2 separate regions of the Homo sapiens genome follow, and region 1 is linked to region 2. The links are contacts of gene promoters, found by promoter capture Hi-C in blood cells and fetal thymus (Javierre and others, 2016). All regions are on one chromosome and are shown on one strand. The core of a region is centred on a gene start or on the middle of the fragment in contact, and the rest is flanking DNA. Distances in the headings are between cores, read along the strand shown. Region 1 overlaps DNAJC5 (DnaJ heat shock protein family (Hsp40) member C5). Region 2 holds the start of ZBTB46-AS1 (ZBTB46 antisense RNA 1).

Region 1 (7,259 bases), core at 440-2,939, 93 kb after region 2:
CATTAGAAATAAAAATTGTTTTAACTTGTATGAGTTTTGCAAGCATTGATATTTCAAATTGAAATTGCAGAAATTAGGACAGCATTTCATTTTCTTTTGTTTTTTTGAGACGGAGTCTCATTCTCTCACCCAGGCTGGAGTGCGGTGGCGTGACCTTGGCTCACTGCAACCTCTGCCTCCTGGGTTCAAGTGATTCTTCTGCCTCAGCCTCCCGAGTAGCTGGGACTACAGGCGGTCGCCACCACGCCAGGCTAATTTTTTGTATTTTTAGTAGAGACAGGGTTTCGCGGTGTTAGCCAGGATGGTCTCGATCTCCTGACCTTGTGATCCGCCCATCTTGGCCTCCCAAAGTGCTGGGATTGCAGGTGTGAGCCACTGCGCCTGGGCTTTTTTTTTTTTTTTTTTTTGGTTGGGGGACGGAGTCTCACTCTGTCACCCAGGCTTGAGTACAACGGTACGGTTTCCGCTCATGGCAACCTCTGCCTCCTAGGTTCAAGTGATTCTCCTGCCTCAGCCTCCTGGGTTGCTGGGATTACAGGCGCCTGCCATGACACCCGGCTAATTTTTGTATTTTTAGTAGAGATGGGGTTTTGCCATGTTGGCCAGGCTGGTCTTGAACTCCTGACCTCAGGTGATCCACCCACTTTGGCCTCCCAAAGTGCTGGGATTATAGGCGTGAGCCACTGAGCCCAGCCCCAAGTTGGTCTTGAGCTCCTGGACTCAAGTGATCGTCCAACCAGCATCTCATTTTCTAAAGAAAGAAGTACTTAGACCAGGTTTGGGACATGTCTCTGAAAATTCTGGGCTGGTGCAGTGGCTCATGCCTGTAATCCCAGCACTTTGAGAGGCCGAGGCAGGCGGATTGCTAGAGTCCAGAAGTGAAGACCAGGCTGGGCAACATAGCAAAACCCCATCTGTACTAAAACTAGAAACAATTAGCCGGGTATGGTGACATGCAGCTGTAGTCCCAGCTACTCGGAGGCTGAGGTGGTAGGATCACCTGAGCCTGGGAGGCTGAGGCTGCAGCAAGCCATGATTGCTCCACTGCACTCCAGCCTGGGCGACAGAGCAAGACACTGTCTCAAAAAAAAAAAAAAAAAAAAAAAGGAAGTTCTGTATTGATCAATAATTTCCTCCTCAGGACAGACCTGCATATGCCACAATTTAACTTTGTTGCAACATCATTCTACATTTTGCATGAATGGTTTCAAAAAACTTATTTCTATGACAGAGAACTTTGTCATTTATTCTTGACATATTAAACCTGAGTGACATTTTTAAATTTTTGTGTTGTGTTGTGAGTGCTTAGTGAAGATTCCTTGAATATGGATGTGAATGAATCTTATTTTTCATGGGTTTATAATTGTATTGTCCCTTTAAATATTCTACATTGAACATGTATCACCAGCAGAAATAATCATTTACGAGGTGAAGTGTCCAGAGCCATGTAGTGTCTGCATTGCTGTGTCCAGGGATTCTTTGTTTGTTTGAGACGGAGTCTCGCTCTGTCATCCAGGCTGGAGTGCAGTGGCACGATCGTGTCTCACTGCCGCTTCCACCTCCCGGGTTCAAGTGATTCTTCTGCCTCAGCCTCTTGAGTAACTGGAATTACAGGCGTGTGCCACCACGCCCAGCTAATTTTTGTATTTTTAGTAGAGATGGGGTTTCACCATGTTGTCCAGGCTGGTCTCAAACTCCTGAACTCAAGTAATCAACCCACCTTGGCCTCCCAAGGTGCTGGGTTTACAGGCATGAGCCACTGTGCTCAATCTGCGTTCTGAGGCATTCTGTGCCTGTTATGAAATCATGATGCTGGCAGGTCGGAAGATGGAATCGACTTCCCAGCCCCATCGGCTGTGCCCTGCCCTCCTTGCTGTCTCTAGAGCGCGGCTGACTTCGGGGAGAGCTCTCCCTGCCCTGTGCCTCTATTTTTTCACCAGGTAGGGTGGAAATGTGTTCTAGTGAAACTGCAGAACGAAAATATCCCGTCTTACTCTTGACCCTTGAAGAAGCAGGAGCTGAATTCAGGTGCCAGAGGCTGCGTCCGCGCGCTCCACATCAGTCTCAGAGTGGAGGCGAGCCCAGGCCAGAGGCCTCTACCCCGGACGAGGCTGCAGGTGCCTGACGGGAGGAGTGACTGCAGCTCAGCAGAGGGAGTGTGTGGAGTGTGCGGCCCTGCCTGGCTTTTATTTTGCTCCTCCTGTTATTGGGAGGGATTAGCAGCAGAGCGAATGTTTGGATCTTTGCTGAGCAGTCCCATCGGATTTTTCTTTATTAAATAGGATTGTGTTTTATTGTAAGAAGGTTTCCCTAAGACAAATAACGAAGGAAATTCTGGGTCCAGGAGTACAGACTGTAGCTTCTGTCATCTCTTGCCAAGTTCGTAGCCCTCAGATGGTGTCTGTCTTTCCCCTTTGCTTGCGGGGCCTTTTACCACAGCACTTTGGTGTTCTTTTAGCTGCTGCGATAGGACTAGCTGTTAAAATCTGAGATTTTACATTTTTGCCAGTCGCAATAAATTTTGTTAGTTCTTTCTTGATGTGTTCTTTAAAATAATAATGCTTTTTTTTTTTGGGTGGGGGACAGAGTCTTGTGCTGTCGCCCAGGCTGGAGTGCAGTGACGCGATCTCGGCTCACTGCAAGCTCCGCCTCCCGGGTTCACGCCATTCCCCTGCCTCAGCCTCCCGAGTAGCTGGGACTACAGGCGCCCGCCACCACGCCCGGCTAATTTTTCGTATTTTTAGTAGAGATGGGGTTTCACCGTGTTAGCCAGGATGGTCTCGATCTCCTGACCTTGTGATCCGCCCAGCTCGGCCTCCGAAAGTGCTGGGATTACAGGCGTGAGCCACTGCTCCTGGCCTCATCTTTTTTTTTTTTTTTTTTTTTTTTGAGACGGAGTTTCACTCTTGTTTCCCAGGCTGGTGGAGTGCAACGGTGTGATCTTGGCTCACCGCAACCTCTGCCTTCTGGGTTCAAGTGATTCTCCAGCCTCAGCCTCCTGAGTAGCTGGGATTACAGGCGTGTGCCACCACACCCAGCTAATTTTGTATTTTTAGTAGAGATGGGGTTTCTCCATGTTGGTCAGGCTGGTCTCGACCTCCCAACCTCAGGTGATCCACTCACCTCGGCCTCCCAAAGTGCTGGGATTACAGGCGTGAGCCAACGCACCTGGCCTCATCTTGTTTTTTTTTTTTTTTTTTGAGACAGAGTCTTGCTCTGTCGCCCAGGCTGGAGTGCAGTGACTCAGTCTCGGCTCACTGCAAGCTCTGCCACCTGGGTTCATGCCATTCTCCTGCCTCAGCCTCCCGAGTAGCTGGGACTACAGGCACCCGCCGCCACGCCCAGCTAATGTTTTTTGTATTTTTAGTAGAGACGGGATTTCATCGTGTTAGCCAGGATGGTCTCGATCTCCTGACCTCGTGATCTGCCCACCTCGGCCTCCCAAAGTGCTGGGATTAGAGGCGTGAGCCACCGCGCCCTGCCACATCCTGTTTTTTTTACAACAGGGTGTCACTCTGTCTCTCACCCAAGTTAGAGAGGAGTGACACAGTCTTAGCTCACTGCATTCTCCCAGGCCCAAGCAATCCTCCTATCTCAGCCTCCCAAGTAGCTGGGACTTTAGGTATGTGTCACCACAGTTGACTAATGTTTTAATTTTTGTAGAGATGGGGCCTCCACATGTTGCCCAGGTTGGCCTTCCTGGGCTCGATCCTCCTGCCTCAGCCTCCCAAGGTGGTGCATGCCTACAGTCTCAGTAGATTAGAATCACCCTAACCCTCAGTAACTGAGATTGTAGGCACGCACCACCTCACTGACTCACCTCAAACTCTCTTTTTTGAGATGGAGTCTCTGTCACCAGACTGGAGAGCAGTGGTGCGATCTTGGCACACTGCAACCTCCGCCTCCTGGGTTCAAGCGATTCTCCTGCCTCAGCCTCTGTAGCAGCTGGGACTACAGGCATGCGCCACTACGCCCGGCTGATTTTTGTATTTTTTAGTAGAGACGGGGTTTCACCATGTTGGCCAGGATGATCTCGATCTCTTGACCTCATGGTCTGCGCACCTTGGCCTCCCAAAGTGCTGGGATTACAGGTGTGAGCCACTGCGCTCGGCCCATCTCAAACTTTTAATAAGGCTCTTCGTATAGAAATTTTTAAAAAATTAAAAACATTTTTGGCCAGGCTTAGTGGTTTAAGCCTGTAATCCCAGTGCTTTGGGAGGCCAAGGCAAGCAGATTACATGAGGCCAGGAGTTTGAGACTAGCCTGGCCAACATGGCGAAACCACGTCTCTACTAAAAATACAAAAATTTGGGCAGGTGCAGTGGCTGACACCTGTAACCCCAACACTTTGGGAGGCTGAGGTGGATAGATCTCTCGAGTTCAGGAATTTGAGACCAGCCTGGGTAACATGAGGAAACCCCATCTCTGCAGAAAATACAAAAGTTAGCTGGGCGTGGTGGTGCATGCCTGTGGTCCCAGCTACTCGAGAGGCTGAGGTCAGGCTGAGGTGGGAGGATCCCTGGAGCCTGGGAAGCGGAGGTTGCAGTGGGGGATGAAAAAGAATACCCCGTGTCCAAATAGCAAAACACTCTGAAATGAGGCAAACCGTGGTTTGTTGAACAGGTGTTCTGGGACAAGGTTGCCGAATATGCATTAGCCGTAATCCCCAGGACAGCCATGCAGGGTGGGTCTTAAACAGTTTTTTAGATTCTCGAGTATAAAGGTATAATATTGAAGAATAAGCACAAATAATGTCATCATACATGTTAAAGTGACAACACAGGATTTACAAAATTACCCTTTTTTCCCCAAAATTACCTCTTACGATGTGGTTTCTGTTGGTGCTGTTTTCTCTTGCATCATCCCGCCAGGTTGGGTAACCCTAACTGATTGTCACCAGCAGACCAACAGACAGACTCACAGCATCCTTCTCCCTGGTGTGAGCACTGCTTAATTCACATTTATGAAAATACTTTAAGACAAGGGCACTGTAACTCACATAGAATCTGAAGTGGCCTTGAACAGGGAGCTGGTCCAGCTGCCTCTTAGTGTGTCTGACCTCCAGGTGGGCGGACTGAGATGCGTGCAGGTGTTCATGGTATAGGCATCCTTGTAAACCTGCTCTGGTTAAGGATAAATAGGCAAAGTTGTGCTAATGCTGTTCCTACAGCAGCCTTTGCCCTGGACTGACTCCAGAACAGCTGGCTGACTGACAGCTGCCTCCCAGTAAAGCCTTAAACAGGCTTATCTTATATTTTTAAAAGGCAAAGGACAATAAGGCAGATTAATAAACTGTGGGGGTTTTTTTGTTTGTTTTTGTTTTTCTTGAGACAAAGTCTCGCTGTTGTACCCCAGGCTGGAGTGCAACGGCGCGATCTCGGCTCACTGCAACCTCTGCCTCTCGGGTTCAAGCGATTCTCCTGCCTCAGCCTCCAGAGTAGCTGGGATTACAGGTGCCCGCCACCACGCCCGGCTAATTTTTGTATTTTTAGTCTAGACGGGGGTTTCACCATGTTGGCCAGGCTGGTCTCGAACTCCTGACATCAGGTGATCCGCCTGCCTCGGCCTCCCAAAGTGTCAGGATTATAGGGTGAGCCACCGTGCCTGGCTTTTTTTTTTTTTTCCTGTCTTTTGTGTATGTGATGGGGTCTCGCTCTTGTCGCCCAGGCTGGAGTGCCATGGCACGATCTCGGCTCACTGCAACCTCTGCTTCCCGGGTTCAAGTGACTCTCCTGCCTCAGCCTCCTGAGTAGCTGGAACTGCAGGTGTGCACCACCATGCCCGGCTAATTTTTGTATTTTTACTAGAGATGGGGTTTCACCATGTTGGCCAGGCCGATCTCGACCTCCTGACCTCAAGTGATTGACCCACCTCAGCCTTCCAAAGTACTGGGATTGCAGGTGTGAGCCACCACACCCGGGGCTGGATTTTTTTGTTTTAAGAGACAAGGTCTCACACTCTTGCCCAGGCTGGTTTACAGTGGTGCAGTCACTGCAGCCTTCACCTCTGGGCTCGAGTGATCCTCCCACCTCAGGTTACAGGTGTGAGCCACCACACATGACCGCACATGGCAGATTTTTTTTTTTTTTTTTTCACGGAGTCTGGCTCTTGTCACCCAGGCTGGAGTGCAATGATGTGATCTCAGCTCTCACTGCAACCTCCGCCTCCTGGGTTCAAGCAATTCTCCTGCCTCAGCCTCCCGAGTAGCTGGGATTATAGGGGCGTGCCACCCTGCCCAGCTAATTTTTTTTTTTTTCTGGAGACAAAGTCTTGCTCTGTCACCCAGACTGGAGTGCAATGGCACCATCTTGGCTCACTGCAACCTCCGCCTCCTGGGTTCAAGCGATTCTCCTGCCTCAGCCTCCCGAGTAGCTGGGATTACAGGCACGTGCCACCTCACCTGGCTAATTTTTATATTTTTAGTAGAGACGGGGTTTCACCATGTTGGCCAGGCTGGTCTTGAACTCACTGACCTCAGGTGATCCGCCTCAGCCTCCCAAAGTGCTGGGATTACAGGCGTGAGCCACTATGCCCGGCCCAGGATTTTTTTTTTAATTAAGGAAAATACTTTTTACATCTAAAATTCTACGCGACAATAATTAATGTGTCTTCAAGCTGAGAATTAATTAAAATATAGCCAATAAAACATGTATTAAGCTTTGTAAACTTTGTCTATATATGTACTTATTTTACTTTTATTTAAAAATATGGGGCCAGGCACGGTGGCTCACACCTGTAATCCCACCACTTCGGGAGGCCAAGACGGGTGGATCACTTGGGGTCAGGAGTTTGAGACCAGCCTGGCCAACATGGCGAAACCCCTTCCATCTCTACTAAAAATATGAAAATTAGCCAGGTGTGGTGCAGGCACCTGTAATTCCAGCTACTCAGGAGGCTGAGGCAGGACAATTGCTTAAACCCAGAAGGCGGAGGTTGCAGTGAGCCGACATTGCTCCACTGCACTCCAGCTTGAGCAATAGAAAGACTCTGTCTTAATAAATAAATTAATAGCCGAGCACGCTGGCTCACGCCTGTAATCCCAGCATTTTGGGAGGCCGAGACGGGCAGATCATGAGGTCAGGAGATCGAGACCATCCTGGCTAACACGATGAAACCCCGTCTCTACTAAAAATACAAAAAAAGCCGGGTGTGATGGTGGGCGCCTGTATATAGTCCCAGCTACTCGGGAGGCTGAGGCAGGAGAATGGCGTGAACCTGGGAGGTGGAGCTTGCAGTGAGCCGAGATCGCGCCACTGCAC
Region 2 (6,743 bases), core at 1,537-4,036:
TGATAGAAGGTAAAATGAAACAGCAGCCGGGCAGTGTGGTACACACCTCTAATCGCAGCACGTTGAGAGGCTGAGGCGGCAGAATCACTTGAGCCCAGGAGTTGCAGGCTGCAGTCAGTGAGCTCCGATTGCACCACTGTGCTCTAGCTGGAGTGACAGAGCAAGACCCCCATCTCTAAAGGAAAAAAAAAGACACAGGGAGGAGAGAAGGTCATGTGACCACAGGCAGAAACTGGAGTGACAAAGTCACAAGCCAAAGGATGCCTGGAGCCACCAGGAGCTGGAAGAGGCAGGAAGGACCCTGCCTGGAGTCTCCAGAGGGAGCATGGCCCTGAGACACCCTGAGTTCCAGCGCTGGACTCTGGAACTGAGAGGAGACACCTCTGCTGCCGCGAGCTGCCCAGCAGGTGGTACTTTCACAGCAGCCCCAGGAAACTAATACACAAAGCCATGCATCAGCTTTTTTTTTTTTTTCCTTTTTTTTGAGACGGAGTCTCGCTCTGTCGCCCAGGCTGGAGGGCAGTGGCACGATCTCGGCTCACTGAAGCCTTCGGCTCACTGCAACCTCCGCCTCCTGGGTTCAAGTGATTCTCGTGCCTCGGCCTCCCCAGTAGCTGGGATTATAGGTGTGTGCCACCACACCCGGATAATTTTTTTGTATTTTTAGTACAGACAGGGTTTCACCATGTTGGCCAGGTTGGTCTCGAACTCCTGACCTCAGGTGCTCTACCCGCCTCCGCCTCCCAAAGTGCTGGGATTACACGCATGAGCCACCATGCCCGGCCCCAACTTTTAAAAATATTATAATTTTCTCAGAAAGCTAATCAGCTGGCTGGGAAAGGTGGCTCACGCCTGTAATCCCAGCATTTTGGGAGGCTGAGACGAGCGGATCACCTGAGGTCAGGAGTTCGAGACCAACCTGGCCAACATAGTGAAACCCCGTCTCTACTAAAAGTTAAAAAAAAAAATTAGCCTGGCATGGTGACGGGTGCCTGTAATCCCAGCTACTCGGGAGGCTGATGCAGGAAAATTGCTTGAACCCGAGAGGCAGAGGTTGCAGTGAGCCGAGAACATATCACTGCACTCCAGCCCAGGCAACAACAGTGAAACTCCATCTCAAAAAAAAAAAAAAAAGAAAGAAAAGAAAGCTAATCAGCTTAACAAGGCAAGAAAACTATTTGTGTACATTTTAAATCTGAGATACTGCTATGGCTAACTCTGACCTGAAATGGTAACTTCAAAAAAAATAGAACCTAAATAAGAAGGTTGTAATACCTGCTTAAAATAAAGGCAACACTATGCTCTCAAGGAATATGATGGAATCTTTCTCTTTTTTTGAGATGGAATCTGGCTCTGTCACCCAGGCTGGAGTGCAACGGTGCGACCTTGGCTCACTAAAACCTCCACCTCCCACGTTCAAGCGATTCTCCTGCCTCAGCCTCCCATGTAGCTGGGACTACAGGCGCCCACCACCACGCCCAGCTAATTGTTTTGTTTTGGTTTTTTTTTTTGAGATGGAGTCTCGCTCTGTCGGCCAGGATGGAGTGCAGTGGCGCCATCTCGGCTCACTGCAAGCTCCGCCTCCCAGGTTCACGCCATTCTCCTGCCTCAGCCTCCTGAGTAGCTGGGACTACCAGCGCCCGCCACCACACCCGGCTAATTTTTTGTATTTTTAGTAGAGACGGGGTTTCACCGTGTTAGCCAGGATAGTCGCGATCTCCTGACCTCATGATGCACCTGCCTCGGCCTCCCAAAGTGCTGGGATTACAGGCGTGAGCCACCACGCCTGGCCAGGATTGGTGTTAATTCTTAAAATGTTTGATAGAATTCAACAGTGAAGTGATATATACAATCATATACATATATAGAGAGAGACAGAGATGGACTTTTCTTTTGTTGGAAGTTTATTGACTATTGATTCAATTTCTTTATTGAAATTGACTTTTCTTTTTGGAAGCTAAAAAGTACAATAACTGTAGTGAAAGTTTCTGAACTTTTCTTTCATTGGAAGTTTTTTGACTACTGATTCTTTATTTGTTATAGGTCTATTCAGATTTTCTGTTTCTTCTTGAGTCAGTTTGGTCTCGCTCTGTCACCCAGGCTGGAGTGCAGTGGCGCCATCTTGGCTCACTGCAACTTCTACCTCCCGAGTTCGAGTGATTCTCCCACCTCAGCCTCCCCAGTATCTCGGACTACAGGCGCACGCCAGCATACCTGGCTAATTTTTGCATTTTTAGTAGGAACGGGGTTTCACCATGTTGGCCAGGCTGGTCTCGAACTCCTGGCCTCAAGCAATCTGCCCGCCTCGGCCTCCCAAAGTGTTGGGACTACAGGTGTGAGCCACCGCGCCCGGCCTTCAGCTACTCCATTTTTTAACATTTTGCCGCATTTGTTTACATCAAGCAATATGATAGAATCCCTAACCAGTTACTTTTTGCTTAAAAGCTGTACTAGGCCAAAACAAGCGAAGCACCCGTCTGTGTGAGGCAGCGGGTCTGGCTTACAGGCGGCGCCTCAGGGCTCGCTCCCCCTCCGAGCGGGTCTCACTCCCAGAGCGGGGCTCGCCCGGTGTCTGGCCTCCGAGGCCGTGTGCCCAAGTCCCCACCTTGTGCGGCACAGGCCCTTCCCACAGGGGACACTCACGGAAGCTGAACGGACCTTCCCACAGGAGACACTCACGGAAGCTGAACGGACCTTCCCACAGGGGACACTCACGGAAGCTGAACGGACCTTCCCACAGGGGACACTCACGGAAGCTGAACGGACCTTCCCACAGGGGACACTCACGGAAGCTGAACGGACCGACGGAGGTGGCGTGGATGAGCAGCAGCCGCCTGAGCAGTGAGGAAACCCCGCGGACAGCGCGGTAAGGACCCCACCCAGATTACTGGATTTCACCACCGGCCGCCTTCGATGGAGGAGTCCTCAGTCTCCACATCCGCACGGCACAGACGGAGGGGGGGCCCATGGGGCCCCAGCGATGAACCTGTCAGGGGTCCCCTGTACCCTGTAGGCCAGTCAAGCCATCCTTCCCAGCCCTTGCCCCGGGGGCTGAGCGCAGGGGAGGGCCCGGAAGGCAGACGCCACGGAGCCCGGGGCTTCAGGGGGGCGTGGGGCGGAAGCGGGGCCAGGGCGGAGGTCACGGACAGGGTCATCCGGACCCACAAGGAGTCTCAGCCCCGGGCCCGGCGGGAGGGAAGGGGGAAGCCAGGCTCTTCCTCCTAGGGCAGGGCCTGGGCTCCGGGGCAGTGTGACCTCCCGCCCCTAAGCGAGTCCTGCCTCCCCATGAGACCTGAGCTCCTCCAGCGTGGGTGGGAGGCGGACAGAGCCTCCCCCAGAGAAGGCCCTCCTCGGTCCAGCGCTCGGCCAGGACAGGCGCCAAGGCCGCCTTAAGAAATAAAACCAGCAGGCGCGGTGGCTCACGCCTGTAATCCCAGCACTTTGGGAGGCCGAGGCGGGCGGATGGTGAGGTCAGGAGATCAAGACCATCCTGGCTAACATGGTGAAACCCCGTCTCTACTAAAAAATACAAAAAAAAATTAGCCGGGCGTGGTGGGGGCGCCTGCAGTCCCAGCTACTCGGGAGGCTGAGGCAGGAGAATGGCGGGAACCCGGGGGGCGGAGCTTGCGGTGAGCCGAGATGGCGCCACTGCACTCCAGCCTGGGCGGCAGAGCGAGACTCCGCTTCAAAAAAAAAAAAAAAAAAAAAAAGAAAAAGAAAAAAAAAAAAGAAAGAAAACTCCATGATTCATGAGGTAAGACCTGGGAGCTGGCGGCTCGGTGCTCCGGTGCTGCAGAGGCACTCAAGGGGCTCTCCACGTTCGCCTTCCACGTTCCCCTTCGCAGGGACCGCAGCGCCTGGGGCACTTCGCCATGGGCTTGGCCGAAGTGGGCACTAAAGGTGCAGACTCGGTGGAGCCAAGGGGGGCAAGGTCAGCAGCCCTGGGGGCGCAGCCCTGGGGGCCCCGCCGTGGGCCACGCCCAGCGCGTCCAGTCCTCATGGCCGCGTCTATTCCAGGAATGGGGTCCTGGGGTTCGGCACAGGCCTGCTGGGGTGGTGGCCCCACATCTTGCCTGTGTCCCCCCATATTATGCCCAAGGGAGCAACAAAGGCCACCCCTGGGTCCAGGCCTCAGGAGCTCACAGGAGCCCTGAGCCCAGAAGACAGCAGCGCCCTCACGCGGTCCTCAGCAAACCTGCCAGAGCCCAGCAGGTGGAGAGGACTCCGGGAGACAGCAGGAGCTCCGCGACCTCCCTTCCTCTCCCCTCTTCTCCCTTACGAAGTTAGCCGTGTGGTGGCCAGTGTGGCTTAACTCAATGATACAATTTTAAAGATTTCTGGAAAGGACTTAAAAGACACGTGCTTAACTCTGAGAAAAGATTTCAAGGCCAGGCCAGAATGGTGGCTCATGCCTGAAATCCCAACGCTGAGGGAAGCCGGGGCGAGCAGATGGCTTGAGCCCAAAAGTTCAAGACCAGCCTGGGCAACATGGTGAGACCCCATCTCTACAAAAAATAGAAAAAATTAGCCGGGCATGGTGGTGCACACCTGTAGTCCCCGCGACTCTGGAGGATGAAGTGGGAGGATCCCTTGAGTCGGGAGGTCGAGGTTGGAGTGAGCCAAGATGGCACCACTGTACTCCGGCATGGGTGACACAGCAAGGCCCTCTCTCAAAAAAAAAAAAAGAAAAGAAAACTCTAAATACATGGAACTGGCAAACATTAACGTAATGTCAATTACAAAGGTGGCCGTGACACAGGAGGCCCAGAGTGGGGCGGCCCTTGAAGCAGCCTGCAGCGTGGGGATGAGGCCTACAGATGCCTCTGCCTCTTTGACTAATTCCACTTCTGAGACTCTGCCCCAAGGAAATAACCCAAAAAGCTAATTGGTTCCAAGATGTTCCAAGCACTGCTATGGCTAACAGTGACAAACAGAAAAAGACCCAAACACTCGACAATTCGAAGATGGCCCAGAAAACCGTCAAGTATTAAAACTGAGCAAAACCCAATTCCAGGAACATTAAAAATGCCAGTCACGTGGATGCTTAGAAGTTTATCAGAAATTAACGGGAAGAAATGAGAACAGAAAGCCCAGCTGGTCGTGTCTGCACAAGCTCACACACACCGACCACACTCAGGATAGGCACCAAAACCCCCCTTCCCCTCGCAAACCAAGGTCCTTATTCATAAAACACAAATGTAATCCTAGCACTTTGGGAGGCTGAGACAGGTGGATCATATGAGATCAGGAGTTTGAGACCGTCCTGGCCTACATAACGAAACTCTGTCTTTACTAAAAATATTAAAATTAGCTGGGCGTGGTGGCACGCACCTATAATCCCAGCTACTAGGGAGGCAGAGGCAGGAGAATCGTTTGAACATGGGAGGCAGAGGTTACAGTGAGCCAAAATTGTGCCACTGCACTCCAGTCTGGGCAACAGAGTGAGACTCTGTCTCAAAAAACAAAAAAATAAATAAAAATAAAACACAAACGCGAGAACGTGCCCACCAGCACAGATGCAGGGTAGGATGACGCCACAGGAAATCAGCACCCAGGAGGTGAACAGAGCGCGAACATGAGAGCAATCTACGTTTCTCTTTCCTCACTCCTACGAGGAGCTCCAGCAGCAGAGCCGGAGAGCACCAGCTGGCGTCCAGGCTCCACTCTCTTTCCTCACTCCTACGAGGAGCTCCAGCGGCAGAGCCGGAGAACACTGGAGAGCACCAGCCGGCGTCCGTGTTCCACTCTCTTTGACTTTTCACAAACCCAACAGGCAGGCGAAGAGTCTGCCTCTCTGGGTCCCAGAACCCCACAGGATGGGCATGAGCCCCACCCCGCCCAGCCCACAGAGGCGAGTCTGGGTCCCAGAACCCCACAGAATGGGCATGAGCCCCACCCCGCCCAGCCCACAGGGGCGAGTCTGGGTCCCAGAACCCCACAGGATGGGCATGAGCCCCCCTAGGGGCAAGAGACGACAACAGGTGGACAAGATGCGAGCCACCAGCCCACTAGGACCTCGGAGCTGCCATGGGGTGGGTCTCCCTGAAGAAGAGTCAAGCAGCCTTCCTCTCCCCAGCCCCACCCCACCTCTCATACAGAAGACACTACAGCCCCAGGCCTCCCAGCTTCTGACTTCCAGGAGCAGAAGTAAGTTCTTCCACAGGGCAGGAGGGGCCCTGGAAGGATACGACTGTCACCTCCTCTGAAAGTATTTCCAGGAAGCCCACTGTGCTCATAGCCATAGGCAACGCAGAGAGCAGGAAGATCTCGGGGGTGCAGAGAGGGGGTGGCCCATAGGTGACGCAGACAACTGACCCTGACCCCTGGGCCCAGCAGAGATCTGCACGTGTGAGGGTCAGCTCTGAGCTGGGCGACGGGCCAGCCGGCTCACCTTGCAGCCAGGTGAGCTCTACCCCGCTGGGAAGAGAGCTGCTGCTGTCTGACTCCCTGCCACATGAGGACTCAGGACTCACTGGGCAGGTGAGCCATGGTGCAGGAACAAACCCCTTTCATCCAACTCTGCCATAAGACAAAATGTTAGAATCACAGTCCCTGTCACTAAGTAGCACATCTATTTCACCAACTCCCACTTTTCTGCCAGGTCTGGCTCATACATCGTTCAGACCAAGTACTTGCCTGGGAAAAAAAACTAAAGTAAAAATAGCTCTTAGACTCCAAACGTGGAAGCATTAAAATATTCAAAAGAACTGACCCTGCAGATATTGAAACAAGGCTTTAGTGCT

Evidence for each region. Contacts are between HindIII fragments. The CHiCAGO score rates a contact against its expected background, and 5 or more counts as called.
Region 1: a contact is called between a fragment that was not itself captured here and the fragment with the promoter of ZBTB46-AS1 in region 2, in 1 of 17 cell types (monocytes). The highest score is 5.4, in monocytes.

Annotation. Positions count from the first base shown.
Region 1 is chr20:63,899,494-63,906,752 of GRCh38, forward strand. The region is part of intron 1 of DNAJC5 (DnaJ heat shock protein family (Hsp40) member C5); the gene reads left to right. Among named protein-coding and RNA genes, the nearest start is that of DNAJC5, 8.0 kb to the left of the region's middle. The HindIII fragment of the contact is 9,931 bases long and covers 1-6,655 here.
Region 2 is chr20:63,805,290-63,812,032 of GRCh38, forward strand. ZBTB46-AS1 (ZBTB46 antisense RNA 1) reads left to right here and starts at 2,787. Exons shown (of 3, transcript NR_110081.1): 1 at 2,787-2,866. The region is part of intron 1 of ZBTB46 (zinc finger and BTB domain containing 46); the gene reads right to left. The HindIII fragment of the contact is 29,160 bases long and covers 1-6,743 here.